Linked DNA regions of Homo sapiens: all the other regions are linked to region 3. Evidence: promoter capture Hi-C in 16 types of primary human blood cells and fetal thymus (Javierre and others, 2016). All regions are on one chromosome and are shown on one strand. The core of a region is centred on a gene start or on the middle of the fragment in contact, and the rest is flanking DNA. Distances in the headings are between cores, read along the strand shown.

Region 1 (2,538 bases), core at 1-2,500, 210 kb after region 3:
GCACCGATGGTGATGAAGATGGTAAAGTAGATGGCACCCCCAATCTCCATTGCATATTCCCTCTTCTCTGTCCTGCAGATGGCAGGCAGGGGCCCCATCATTTCCCTGGCCCTTCAAGCCTGAGTTTCCTTGTCATTGAAATGGGAAAATCATCCCAAGGCCTACTAGAACTTCTGCCTGTGTCACTGCTGTTGTGCAGATCCCATTCCCTACTCCTGTCTCAATAGCTGCTCTCTACTAAGCACCTACTGTGCTGCCAGACAGTGAGCTGATTCTCTAACCAACCCTGCAAGGTGGGGACGTGCACATCAACACTATTAAGTTTAATCTATTAGCTACACTCCTTTTTTTTTTTTTGAGATGGAGTCTCGCTGTGTTGCCCAGACTGGAGTGAAGTGGCGTGATCTCGGCTCACTGCAAGCTCCACCTCCTGGGTTCATGTCGTTCTCCCGCCTCAGCCTCCCAAGTAGCTGAGACTACAGGTGCTTGCCACCACGCCTGGCTAATTTTTTTTTTTTTTTTTTGAGACAGAGTCTCACTCTGTCACCTAAGCTGGAGTGCAGTGGCGTGATATGGGTTCACCGCAACCTCCGCCTCCCAGGTTCAAGCGATTCTCCTGCCTTAGCCTCCTGAGTAGCTGGGATTACAGGCGCCCCACCGTCCGGCTAATTTTTGTATATTTAGTAGAGACGGGGTTTCACCTTTTTGGCCAGGCTGGTCTTGAACTCCTGACCTTGTGATCCACCTGCCTCAGCCTCCCAAAGTGCTGGGATTACAGGTGTGAGCCACTGCACTGGGCTTTGTTTTTGTATTTTTAGTAGAGATGGGGTTTCACTGTGTTAGCCAGGATAGCCTTGATCTGACCTCGTGAGCTGCCCACCTCGGCCTCCCAAGGTGCTGGGATTACAGGCGTGAGCCACCGCGCCCGGCCCCGGCCAGCCTGATTTTTATCCACTACCTATGCCATAATGGAGAATGACTGTAGAAGCCCTTTATCTACTGGGCTTCTATACTCACATGTAGAAGATAAAAAGAAATCAGTTAAGGGGTCCCACTTTCTGGAATAAACTGGAAAGAAATAGGGCTTAGACTTAATAGAAAAGAGGTAAAGAACAGAACACAAAAATGAATGTGGGCAGTGGGTTTAAGAATGAATGAAATGAGACCTGAAGTTCCCAGGAGTTCAGGCAGTTTGGTGGGCTCCAAGGTGGGCTGGGAGGTTGCTCTGTAACCTGAGGCATAACTGCAGACCTGCTGCCTTATCCAAGGCCAACTACCCAGCTGGTTAGCATGATGGGAGAGGTCCCCATTACAGGGTGGGAATGGGACTCTGAATATATGGAGATTCAAGGGTGACAAGGCTTCAGGTATCACAAGTCCAGGTATTTCCTTTTCCTCTGTTTAAAGACCTGGGAACCCCCACTTCTACTGGGCCATCCTCATCCCAATCCCTGGAGCTCCCACTCTCAGCCTGGAGCTCCACCGGCTACCCTGCCCCATAGGTGGGATGAGGCTGGAAGTCCCACTGGCACTCACTGGAAGTCACTGTAGATGTCCACCCAGCCGTCCTGGGTGATGCAGATGAAGAGGGTGTACAGCGCAACCTGTATGTTCTGGAAATGCTTGGGCACGAATGCACCAAAGAGTGTTACTCCAAACACGGAAAAAACCTGTCAGAGAGAAAAGAGCCCCACCCCGACTTCACCAAAGGGCCTGGAAATAGGACACACAAATGTCATGTAAATGAACGCTGCTGAGGAAATCACAGGGATTCAGGCCCACAGGCCTCTCTGCTTTTCCAGACACCCCTCTATTTGCAATGACCCAAGGGCCCTGTTCAGGGAAGGGAAACAGCTGGGGGCGGGGGCAGGCACTGACCAGCATGAAGAAGAGGATGAGGACCATGATATTGGCCATGTCAGGCACCGACTGCAGGATGACGCGGATGATCCGGGCGAGGGGCTCCACCGCCATGCACACATGCACCAGACGAAGCGCCCTGTGGCAGAGCCTGTCAGGGGTGCCCCTAGGCCCTTCCCAGCCCCTTCCCTCCTCATTACCCCCACCAGCTGCCCAGAGAGGCAAAGCTGATCTCCAGCTGGTCGTTATCCCCCCATCTCATTCCTGGGTTCCAGATAGGTCCCCCTCATTTCTCCAGAGCTCCCCGCTCACCTGAGAGTGTAGTTGATGGAGGGAATATTGATTTCATTAATGAAGAACCGCAAGAGCAAGATAAAGACGATAATGAAGTTGAGGATGTTCCAGCCGTCCTGGGGAGTGGGCCAGCCCCAGTGGGGTCTGTCAGGCCCAGCCCATGGGGGCATCCTAGGTCTGCCCTCCCCACATCCCAGGGATGAGGGCTCAATGTCCCTCTCAGAGCAGGGCCAGTCAGCTGCCATCCACTGCTGTTACCCTGCCGCCCCCCAAACAAGCCACAAAACACACGTGTACTCTCTGTCCCATACATGTGTCAATAGCCAAATGCAGTCTCAGAGACACACAGCAAAGACCCTTACAGATACATGGCTGGTCCCTAAG
Region 2 (2,900 bases), core at 302-2,801, 230 kb after region 3:
CATTATCCTGCTTACAGATGGGAAAACTGACACAGAGGTTAAGTAGCTTGCTCACTCTTCGAAGGAATTCTTCCCCTTCTAAGCCAGGCTCCTTCACTGGGGGAGGTGTGTGTGTGTGTTCCCTGTGTCACATTGAGAGCACTGGACTGGGAGTTCATGAACCTATCACTCCCTGGCTATGGGCCCCTGAGCCACCTCCTTCCTGCACGGTGACTGTATTGGGCTGGTGCCCTCCCAATAGACCCAGGCATTGAGCTACAAATGAACTATGTCATGATTGTCTCACTTTGTCGACTTCATAAGGTCAGAGTTGCCTTTCCCATTTGATGGACAGAAAAACTAAGACCTATGGTCACAGAGCTGGCAAGCGGTGGGGGTGGGCCTGGAATCCAGCCTGGGAGTCTGAACCCAGCCCTGAATTCCTGCCCTTACCCGGGCTGGTCCTCCTGAGCCTGTCTCTAGTGCGCTCCAGCTCCCCACTCTGGGAGGGGTGTCCTGACTGCCTGCTCCTGGTCGCACTGTGTGTCAGGAGGCCCTTCCTTCTCTGAGTCTGCCTGTGGGGTGTGTTGCTTCCCATCTGTGTGGGCTCGCTGAGCCTGGACAGCACCTTGCCCCTTGGATAGGAGCCCCAGGGTGGGGCTGTGTCAACCTCTTCAGTCTGGCCTAGGGCTTCTGCTTCTGTCACTAGGAGCTCAGGGTGTGGAGCGGGGAAAATGACACCAGAGACTGAGCAAATCATTTCCTGGCTCTGTGTGTCAGTTTCTGACTCTAAGAAACGGATTTAACAACAGCCCACTGGCCCTGGGGCCAGGGAAGATGAAGGAGATACAGTGGGTGTGGGCCTGTCAGGCCTCCCTCCTGTTTTCATGACACCGCCTCCCCATTATCACCCTAGAGGCCTCTTGGGCTACTGCCATGATGAGGGGCCCCCTTCTGGGTCCTTGGGCCCCCCAGGGTCATCTCATCTGTCTCTCTGCCCAGCACGGTTCCTGGAACATGTTAGGTGCTCTGTAAATATTTGTTGACTGACTGACCGACTGATAGAGCCCGCAGTTTATTATTTTTTTTTTTCTTTTGAGCTGAATCTCGCTCTGTCGTCCAGACTGGAGTGCAGCGGTGCAATCTCGGCTCACTGTAACCTCTGCCTCCTGGGTTCAAGCGATTCTCCTGCCTCAGCCTCCCAAGTAGCTGGGATTACAGGCACCTGCCACCACCCCCAGATAATTTTTGTATTTTTAGTAGAGACGGGGTTTCACCATGCTGGTCTTGAACTCCCGACCTCAGGTGACCCACCCACCTTGGCTTCCCAAAGTGCTGGGATTACAGGTGTGAACCAGCGCACCCAGTCCGCAGATTTTTTTTCCTTTTCCTCTCCTCCCGCTTCCCGGTGGGACACCACACCTAGTCCCCTTCAAGCCCAACTCTACCCCAGCCCCACCCACCTCTCAGCCAAGTTGCCACCTTTCCGGGGGTCCAGGTCTCTACCGGTTCCATGGCCCAGCTCTGCCAGCTCGAATCAGCTCCTGTTTTGCCCTGCTGTCGCCGGAATTTCCGCTCCCAGAGCCCAGGCCTAAGGAGGGGCCGGGCTGGGTCCTGGGCGGAGCCTACTGCATACCTGGGCTCACACAGACGGCAAGATGAGGCACTGCGACAGCCATTGGCCCACGCCCGTCCGCCTCCTGCCCGGCCCTTCAGACATCCTAGGGCTCTGGCATCTCGCGCCTGCTAGGGGGCAGTGCCACTGGCCTCATATCGCGGGGTGGGACCCTGACCCTTGGGCTCCTCAAGAAAAAGCCACAAGAGGAGCGCTGAAATCAGTAGCAAAGCACAGAGGCTAGGGGGCCAGGTCCCTGGGTGCCTAGGCCAGCTCTTGTTAGCTGTGTGACCTGGGGCTGACCCTAACTTCTGCGCCTCAGTTTCTGGGTCTGTAAAAGAGATATAATAGACCGTACTTCAAAGGGCAGCTGTGCACAGTATCTGAATGGCTTGAAAACATTTAGAACTGGGGTGTTTAGCCTCCCTTGGATTTTGCAGTATGGACTCTGGCATCTGGTGAGGCCTGTGAATGCTTTCTCAGAATAGCTGCTTATAAAGGCATAAAACAGGCCGGGCGCGGTGGCTCACGCCTGTAATCCCAGCACTTTGGGAGGCCGAGGTGGGCGGATCACTTGAGATCAGGAGTTCAAGACCAGCCTGGCCAATATGGTGAAACACCATCTCTACTAAAAATACAAAAAATTAGCTGGGCGTAGTGGGTGCTTGTAATCCCAGCTACTCAGGAGGCTGAGGCAGGAGAATCCCTTGAACCCAGGAGGGGGAGGTTCCAGTGAGCCAAGATCGTGCCACTGCACTCCAGCCTGGGCAACAGAGCAAAACTCTGTATTATAAATAAATAAATAAATGCACAAAACAAAATGCTTAGGATTACAATGAGAACAATTATCAAAACTATATTTAAAAACAAATTTGGCCGGGCATGGTGGTTCACGCCTGTAATTCCAGCACTTTGGAAGGCCAAGGCGGGTGGATCATGAGGTTAAGAGATGGAAACCAGCCTGCCCAACATGGTGAAACCCCGTCTCTACTAAAAATACAAAAATTAGCTGGGTGTGGTGGTGCACGCCTGTAGTCACAGCTACTCAGGAGGCTGAGGCAGGAGAATCGCTTGAACCTGGGAGGCGGAGGTTGCAGTGAGCTGAGATCACGCCTCTGCACTCCAGCCTGGCAACAAAGCAAGACTCCGTCTCAAAAAAAAAACCCACAAAAAACAAAAAAAAAATTTGGAGCTGGGGAGTGCTGGCACACGACTGTAGTCCCAGCTACTCGAGAGGTTGAGAGGTTGAGCGGGGGAGTATCACTCAAGCCCAGGAGTCAAAGCCACCCTGGGCAACATAGCAGGA
Region 3 (2,809 bases), core at 241-2,740:
TTCACCCCCTACTGTGCTGCCCTGCTTTAACTGAGAACTTGGGGTTGCGACCTACCGACTTCCCTCCCAGCCTGGCCCAGGAATGTAAGGAAGGCCTGGGCTCTTTGGGTTTTCCTTCCTCACGGGAACTGGACAGCAAAGACCCCAGTCCTGAGCTTTCAAGCCCCCACAGGGATCCTTCAGGGATCTGCCAAACCCAGTTTTTAGTGACCAGCCAGGTGAGGTCTGCATTAAAAAGGGGATGAGGCTGACTTCTCGGCTTTACGCCCCTTGGGTCCAGTAGCCAGTTGCCCTCACTCTCTCCCGCCTTCTGAGCTCCATTCAGACGTTGGAGGAGCTGGGCTCCCGGCTTAGGCCCGGCATGTGCTTCCCTGGCCGGCCTGCTCGCCCTCCCCCCACCGGCAAGCACAATACAACCTTAGTTTCTGCCACATGGGGTCACCTCCCTGCCCCCTGCCCCTTCCCAGGGGAAAGAGGTAATAGACACGTGGTAAGCCGGAGGGGTTCCCGGAAGGGGGCGGGGGTGCTGATAATTGGTGCTGCCTCCCACTACTCCCCCACGAGATAGTTAACAGGGACTCAGAATTGGGGTGCCGAAGCAAAGACAGGGATGCATAATGAGGGCTCCCGATGGCCCTCAATTCAACTGCGAGCCCGGAGCCCACCCGTGGATATGGGCGCCTAGACGCCCTTCCCTGGGCAAAGTTACCGGAATCAGTCTCACCTGGTGCACAAAGACATCCACTGGGGGGTCGAGCGCGACCCCGGCGCGGGCGGTCATGGACAGGAAGCCGAACCCCATGCGCACGTTGAACCACTTACAGATGCCCGCACCGTGCAGCAGCTGAGGCTCGTCCGCCGCCCGGGCCGCGTCCTCCGGCGCCTCCTCGGGCGCCTCTTCTGCCGCCTTGGCGCAGCCACCTGGAGAGAGGGAGGGCCGGGCACTTAGCTGGGGGGCACGGAATCGGAGGGCCGTCTCGGGCCCCAGGCAGGGAGACCCGAGTATCCAGCCCCACAAGTGGACAGCCAGGAGGGGGCAGCTACCAAGCAACAGAAGAGAAGAAACCTATCCCGGTCGCCTCCCGCGTTCCCCTAGCGTACACCGGGACAGTAGTGCCCCGAAAGTTTTGCTCCTCTTCCCACAACGCGTTTCCCAGAGACTCACGGCGGGACAAGCCTCTCCTCTCCATCCACCCACGTAGTCTGGCGCGCACGCCACTGGGACACCAAGGTTCCTGGCCCCAGAGACGGCCCTATGAAGCAGAAGGCCGCACCGTCTTGGGGTCCTTTGGGCAGCCTAGGACTCAGTTCCCCACCTCCCTTCTACGTGGCTCCTGGCCGCCCCTGAATCCTAAAGTGTCCCCGCTAAGTCCCGAGCTCGAACCTGCAAACTGCTGGTTGGACACGGAGCCCATGGTCGTCGGCTGAGCCCGTGGCCCCGGGCCCCTGGTCGGGCGGCTGCTGGCCCCGGAGAAGTCCGAAGGCAAAGGGTTGGTTCGGAGAAGAAGCTGCTACATCTTCCCCCGCACAATAGCGGTGGGAGGGCCCACGGCTTTTCAAAGGCTCCCAAATTCTAAAAGACAATGACCCAACCCCCCGCGGGCAGCCCCCTCCCCTCCCCTCCCTCTCCTTTCCCCTCCCTTTCCCTCCGGCTCCAGCTCCGGCCCTCCCCCACAACTCCGGTCTCTGACACCTCTGGGGTGTCCCTTCTCAGAACCTTGAGGTTTGACACCCCCTCCCCACACGCACAACTGGAGATGGGTCTGTCTGCCCTAGAAGACTTGAGTACCCCGGAATTTGAGATCCTGCACTTTGGACTCAGTAGGGGTCCCCAAAGCAGATACAGGTGGGGGACCTGGTGGGGGGGGTAGTTTTAAAACCACGTGACTGCACACACACACACACACACACACACACACACACACACACCACCCCCACCCCCCGGGCAGATAATTATACATTCCAGAGAGTTGGGGGAGGGAGGTGTGAGCCTGGCGGCGCTGGCCAATCAGAAACACAAACCACCTGTCAAGGGAGAAATGAATGGGCCCTCCCCCTCCCCCAGCCCTTGAGCTCCCCTCCCCCTCTCTTCCCCCTCAGGCCTCTGAGCTGACCCGGCTGCTTGGAGCTGACCCGCTCTCACCCCCCACCCCCGTGTGCTTAGATAGACCTGGAGTTCTGGACACTGGGAAGCCCGGGATGGGGGAGCAGGGGAGAGGCTGGGGACACACAGGGCTGATCTGTCCTGACCAAAGCGCTGCCTTCCAAAGTCTGTCTGCCTCTGACTACATCTGAATGTCTGCCTCCCAGAGTTTCTGACTCAGAGTTTTTCTGGGCCTCCCCCAGTTAGAAAAGAGAAAGTGCTCTTAATTGATTCGTTGTAAAGAATTCTTCCTTCTTTCCTCCCTCCAAACCTGTGTGTCTAAAGTTAGCCCCAGGTAAGCTCCCTGGAGAGCAGGAGGAACCCAAAGAGTCTTGAAGCTGTTTCTCCACCAGCTGCCTTCTCGTCCTACCCCCACCCCATCCCCATCCACTGCTGAGAGAGGGACTGGGTGGGCTGGTGGGTAGAGGTACTTCCTCTCTACTCTTCACACTCTTAGATTCCTAGGCCCTCCTTGTTTCAGAGTAACCACCCTAAAATGCGCTCCCATTCCGTAGTGGGGCTGGTGGAGGAACAGGACTGGGGGGCCTCCTCATTTGAAGAGGTAACCTCCCCTTCTAGGAGATAAAGACGGCTGGCTAGTGGGGGTGGCTACTGCCCTGGTCGGAGATGGACAATGGCCCGGGGCTCAGTGCACGGCCCTGGCCC
Region 4 (3,009 bases), core at 6-2,505, 180 kb after region 3:
CCATTTTGCAGAAAAAAAGAAAGGAGACTTAGGGCCAGCTGGCCAAGGCCCAGGAACTTTCCCTGGAATGAGAGTCATAGAGTCTCCATGTTGAAGCAGAGATCATCAGTTCAAACTCTCATTTTACATATGGAGAGATAGAGGATAAAGTGACTTCTCCCTGCCATCCCCAACCCCCTCAATATAAGATCTGGATTACACAGAAAGGAGTCAGACAAAGTAGAATTCCCGGCTGTTTATTAGCCATACCCTCTGCACCTCCCCATACCATACTAAGTAACTCAATCTCCCCCTAGAAGAGTTCCAGAGATAGGAAGCAAAGGTGGGATGAGGAAGCAGAGCCCAAGGCTGATCAGCCACACTCCTTACCAGATGTTGGTTTCATCTGCACCCCCAACCTCTCTGGTCCGTAACAATAAAACGGACTACTTGCTTTCCCTAAATCTTCCTCCACTCTACCCTTGCCTCAGGCGAGTAAACTAGAGGCCAAGGACTAGGGTTGGAGGAGGTATCAGGCTTCTATCCCAGCATCCAGCTTATTGCTATCAGAAGAAAGATGGCCATCCAGGCTCCTGCAGGAAAGAAAGAAATGATTATAAAACAGAATTAAGTGGCATTGAGAGCAGGGGAAAGTTTTTAGGCTTAGATATTCCCCTTTAGGGAATTATTTAGAAATCCATTCATTCATTCAACAAGCTTTCTTGGGACTGACTGTGTGTAAGTTAAATTGGGGGTGGGGAGGATGGGGATGAAAGGCACTGTCTAGTTCAGTGTGGACCCTACTCAGCCACCTTCACCTGTCCTTGTTACCTGTCTGGCTCTGTATCTTGAATTTTCTTTTTTCTTTTAGAGACAGGGTCTCACTCTGTCTCCCAGGCTGGAGTGTGGTGGCGCCATCATAGTTCACTGCACCCTCAAACTCCTGGTCTCAAGCGATCCTTCTGCCTCAGCCTCTCAAGTAGCTAGGATTACAAGCATGTGCCATGATGCCCAGCTAATTTTTAAATTTTTTATAGAGACAGCATCTTGCTGTGTTGTCCAGGCTGGTGTCAAACTCCTGGCCCCAACCACTCCTCCCACTTTGGTCTCGCAAAATGCTGGGATTACAAGTGTGAGCCACTGCCTGGCCTGTATCTTGAATTTTCACCTCCTACCTGCTTGCCCCTGTATCTTGAATTTTCAATCATTTCTGGATAGACTCAGGTTCTGATGAAGGATAAACCACCAGCCCCACAATGACAAGTGCCATGTACTGTTGAGACCCAAGAAGCTGAGACTCAAATAAGTTAACTGCCGGGCATGATGGCTCACACCTATAATCCCAGCATTTTGGGAGGCTGAGGCAGGCAGATCGTCTGGGGTCAGGAGTTCGAGACCAGCCAGGCCAACATGGTGAAACCCTCCCTCTACTAAAGTACAAAAATTAGCTGGGCATGGTGGTGCGTGCCTGTAATCCCAGATACTCGGGAGGCTGAGGCAGGAGAATGGCTTGAACCCGGGGGGCAGAGGTTGCAGTGAGCTGAGATCACGCCACTGCACTCCAGCCTGGGCATCAGAGTGAGACTCTGTCTCAAAAAAAAAAAAAAAAAAAAGAAAGAAAAAAAAAAAGGTTAACTGACTTCTCTCAGCTCGTATAGAGTGGAGCAGAAACAAAATCCAAAACCAGCACCTGCCAAGACCCAGCAGCGTGTATCCTCAGACCCTGGTGCAACCATCAGAACTTCATCACAGCAATATCTTTGTACCAACCTGCCGAGCTTCTGCTGCTGGAGGCATTGGACTATGAAACCACATAGAAAGAGAGATCAAGCTTAAGGTGCCATTCTGGCAGGACAAGGCTAGCATTCTCCCATTATTTTATCAAGACTGGGCAAAGGGCTTGGTCTCTTTGAAACTGAGATTCAGAAGGGTGTGATGATGGACCTCCTGCCTCTAATAAGAATGGACTTAGTAGAAGATGGGCTTTCCCAAGAGGGTTGGAGTTTTTGTTTTGTTTTGTTTTGTTTGTTTTTGCTTTTTGAGACGGAGTCTTGCTCTGTCGCCCAGGCTGGAGTGCAGTGGCAAGATCTTGGCTCATTGCAAGCTCCGCCTCCCGGGTTCACGCCATTCTCCTGCCTCAGCCTCCCGAGTACCTGGGACTACAGGGGCCCGCCCCCACGCCCGGCTAATTTTTTTTTTTTCCTGTATTTTTAGTAGAGATAGTGTTTCACCTTGTTAGCCAGGATGGTCTCGATCTCCTGACCTTATGATCCGCCCACCTCGGCCTTCCAAAGTGCTGGGATTACAGGCGTGAGCCACCGCGCCCGGCGAGGGTTGGGGTTTTGAAGGACCATTATGGAATAGAAAGAAGGGAGAGACTGTTTCTAGATCATTAAGGAAGATTTACCAAAAAAGTTTGGCACGAGGGACAGCCTGGGAGAAGAGTGATCTGGTGTGACAGGAAAGGTGAGAATGGAAGGAGACAGGCAGAGAAGGCTCAGACTTGAAGTTGACTGAGTGAGACCGGTGAGGAGAGCAGAGGGGAAGCCGAGGAGGACATGGGCTTGGGGAGGAGACTTGCATTTAGGGAAGAGTGGAGGGCATGAAGGAAGGAGGGGACAGAGCAGGTCGGTAGGAGGCTCTGGAAGAGGAGTCAGGGAGGCCCCAGAAATGATCCATTTACCGCTTATTCGGATGGGCCCGAATGCTATCCAGCTGCCGCCGCGCTCCAGGCCCTCCCGCGTTCGGATCTCCCAGGAGCGATCCCTCCCAGGCGAGTTCTTCTGACTACAAGCTTGTGGGCAACGCAAGCACAAGGGTAGCGAAGCCGGCCAGGCGAGGACTTTGCCCAAGACCCCAGGGTAGCCCCACCTCCCTCCCCGCCCCAAGTGAGTTCACCATCCACAAGACCTAGGTCTTCAAAATCCCGCCCAGTCTTCCACAAGCCCCGCCCCCGGTAGGACTGGCCAGTCCCCAGCACCGCAGTCCCCCAGGTCCCGCATCAGCACCGCTTCCGTGAAGACGGCGCAG

The links. Contacts are between HindIII fragments. The CHiCAGO score rates a contact against its expected background, and 5 or more counts as called.
Region 1: a contact is called between a fragment that was not itself captured here and the fragment with the promoter of LIN28A in region 3, in 2 of 17 cell types (M2 macrophages and M0 macrophages). The highest score is 6.0, in M2 macrophages.
Region 2: a contact is called between the fragment with the promoter of CNKSR1 here and the fragment with the promoter of LIN28A in region 3, in 9 of 17 cell types (M2 macrophages, non-activated CD4 T cells, M0 macrophages and 6 more). The highest score is 10.9, in M2 macrophages.
Region 4: a contact is called between a fragment that was not itself captured here and the fragment with the promoter of LIN28A in region 3, in 2 of 17 cell types (M2 macrophages and M1 macrophages). The highest score is 5.4, in M2 macrophages.

What each region holds. Positions count from the first base shown.
Region 1 is chr1:26,197,418-26,199,955 of GRCh38, reverse strand. CATSPER4 (cation channel sperm associated 4) reads right to left here. Exons shown (of 10, transcript NM_198137.2): 4 at 2,173-2,270; 5 at 1,879-1,999; 6 at 1,537-1,670; 7 at 1-72. Among named protein-coding and RNA genes, the nearest start is that of CATSPER4, 8.1 kb to the right of the region's middle. RefSeq lists an enhancer at 1,485-1,984. The HindIII fragment of the contact is 8,937 bases long and covers 1-2,538 here.
Region 2 is chr1:26,176,142-26,179,041 of GRCh38, reverse strand. It overlaps CNKSR1 (connector enhancer of kinase suppressor of Ras 1), which reads right to left and starts at 1,551. Exons shown (of 21, transcript NM_006314.3): 1 at 1,443-1,551. The coding sequence starts at 1,494. The HindIII fragment of the contact is 21,071 bases long and covers 1-2,900 here.
Region 3 is chr1:26,409,498-26,412,306 of GRCh38, reverse strand. LIN28A (lin-28 RNA binding posttranscriptional regulator A) reads right to left here and starts at 1,490. Exons shown (of 4, transcript NM_024674.6): 1 at 1,385-1,490; 2 at 725-921. The coding sequence starts at 1,415. RefSeq lists enhancers at 2,224-2,781, 2,782-2,809. The HindIII fragment of the contact is 9,111 bases long and covers 1-2,809 here.
Region 4 is chr1:26,225,357-26,228,365 of GRCh38, reverse strand. It overlaps the pseudogene ZPLD2P. Among named protein-coding and RNA genes, the nearest start is that of CEP85, 7.3 kb to the left of the region's middle. RefSeq lists an enhancer at 2,710-3,009. The HindIII fragment of the contact is 1,114 bases long and covers 699-1,812 here.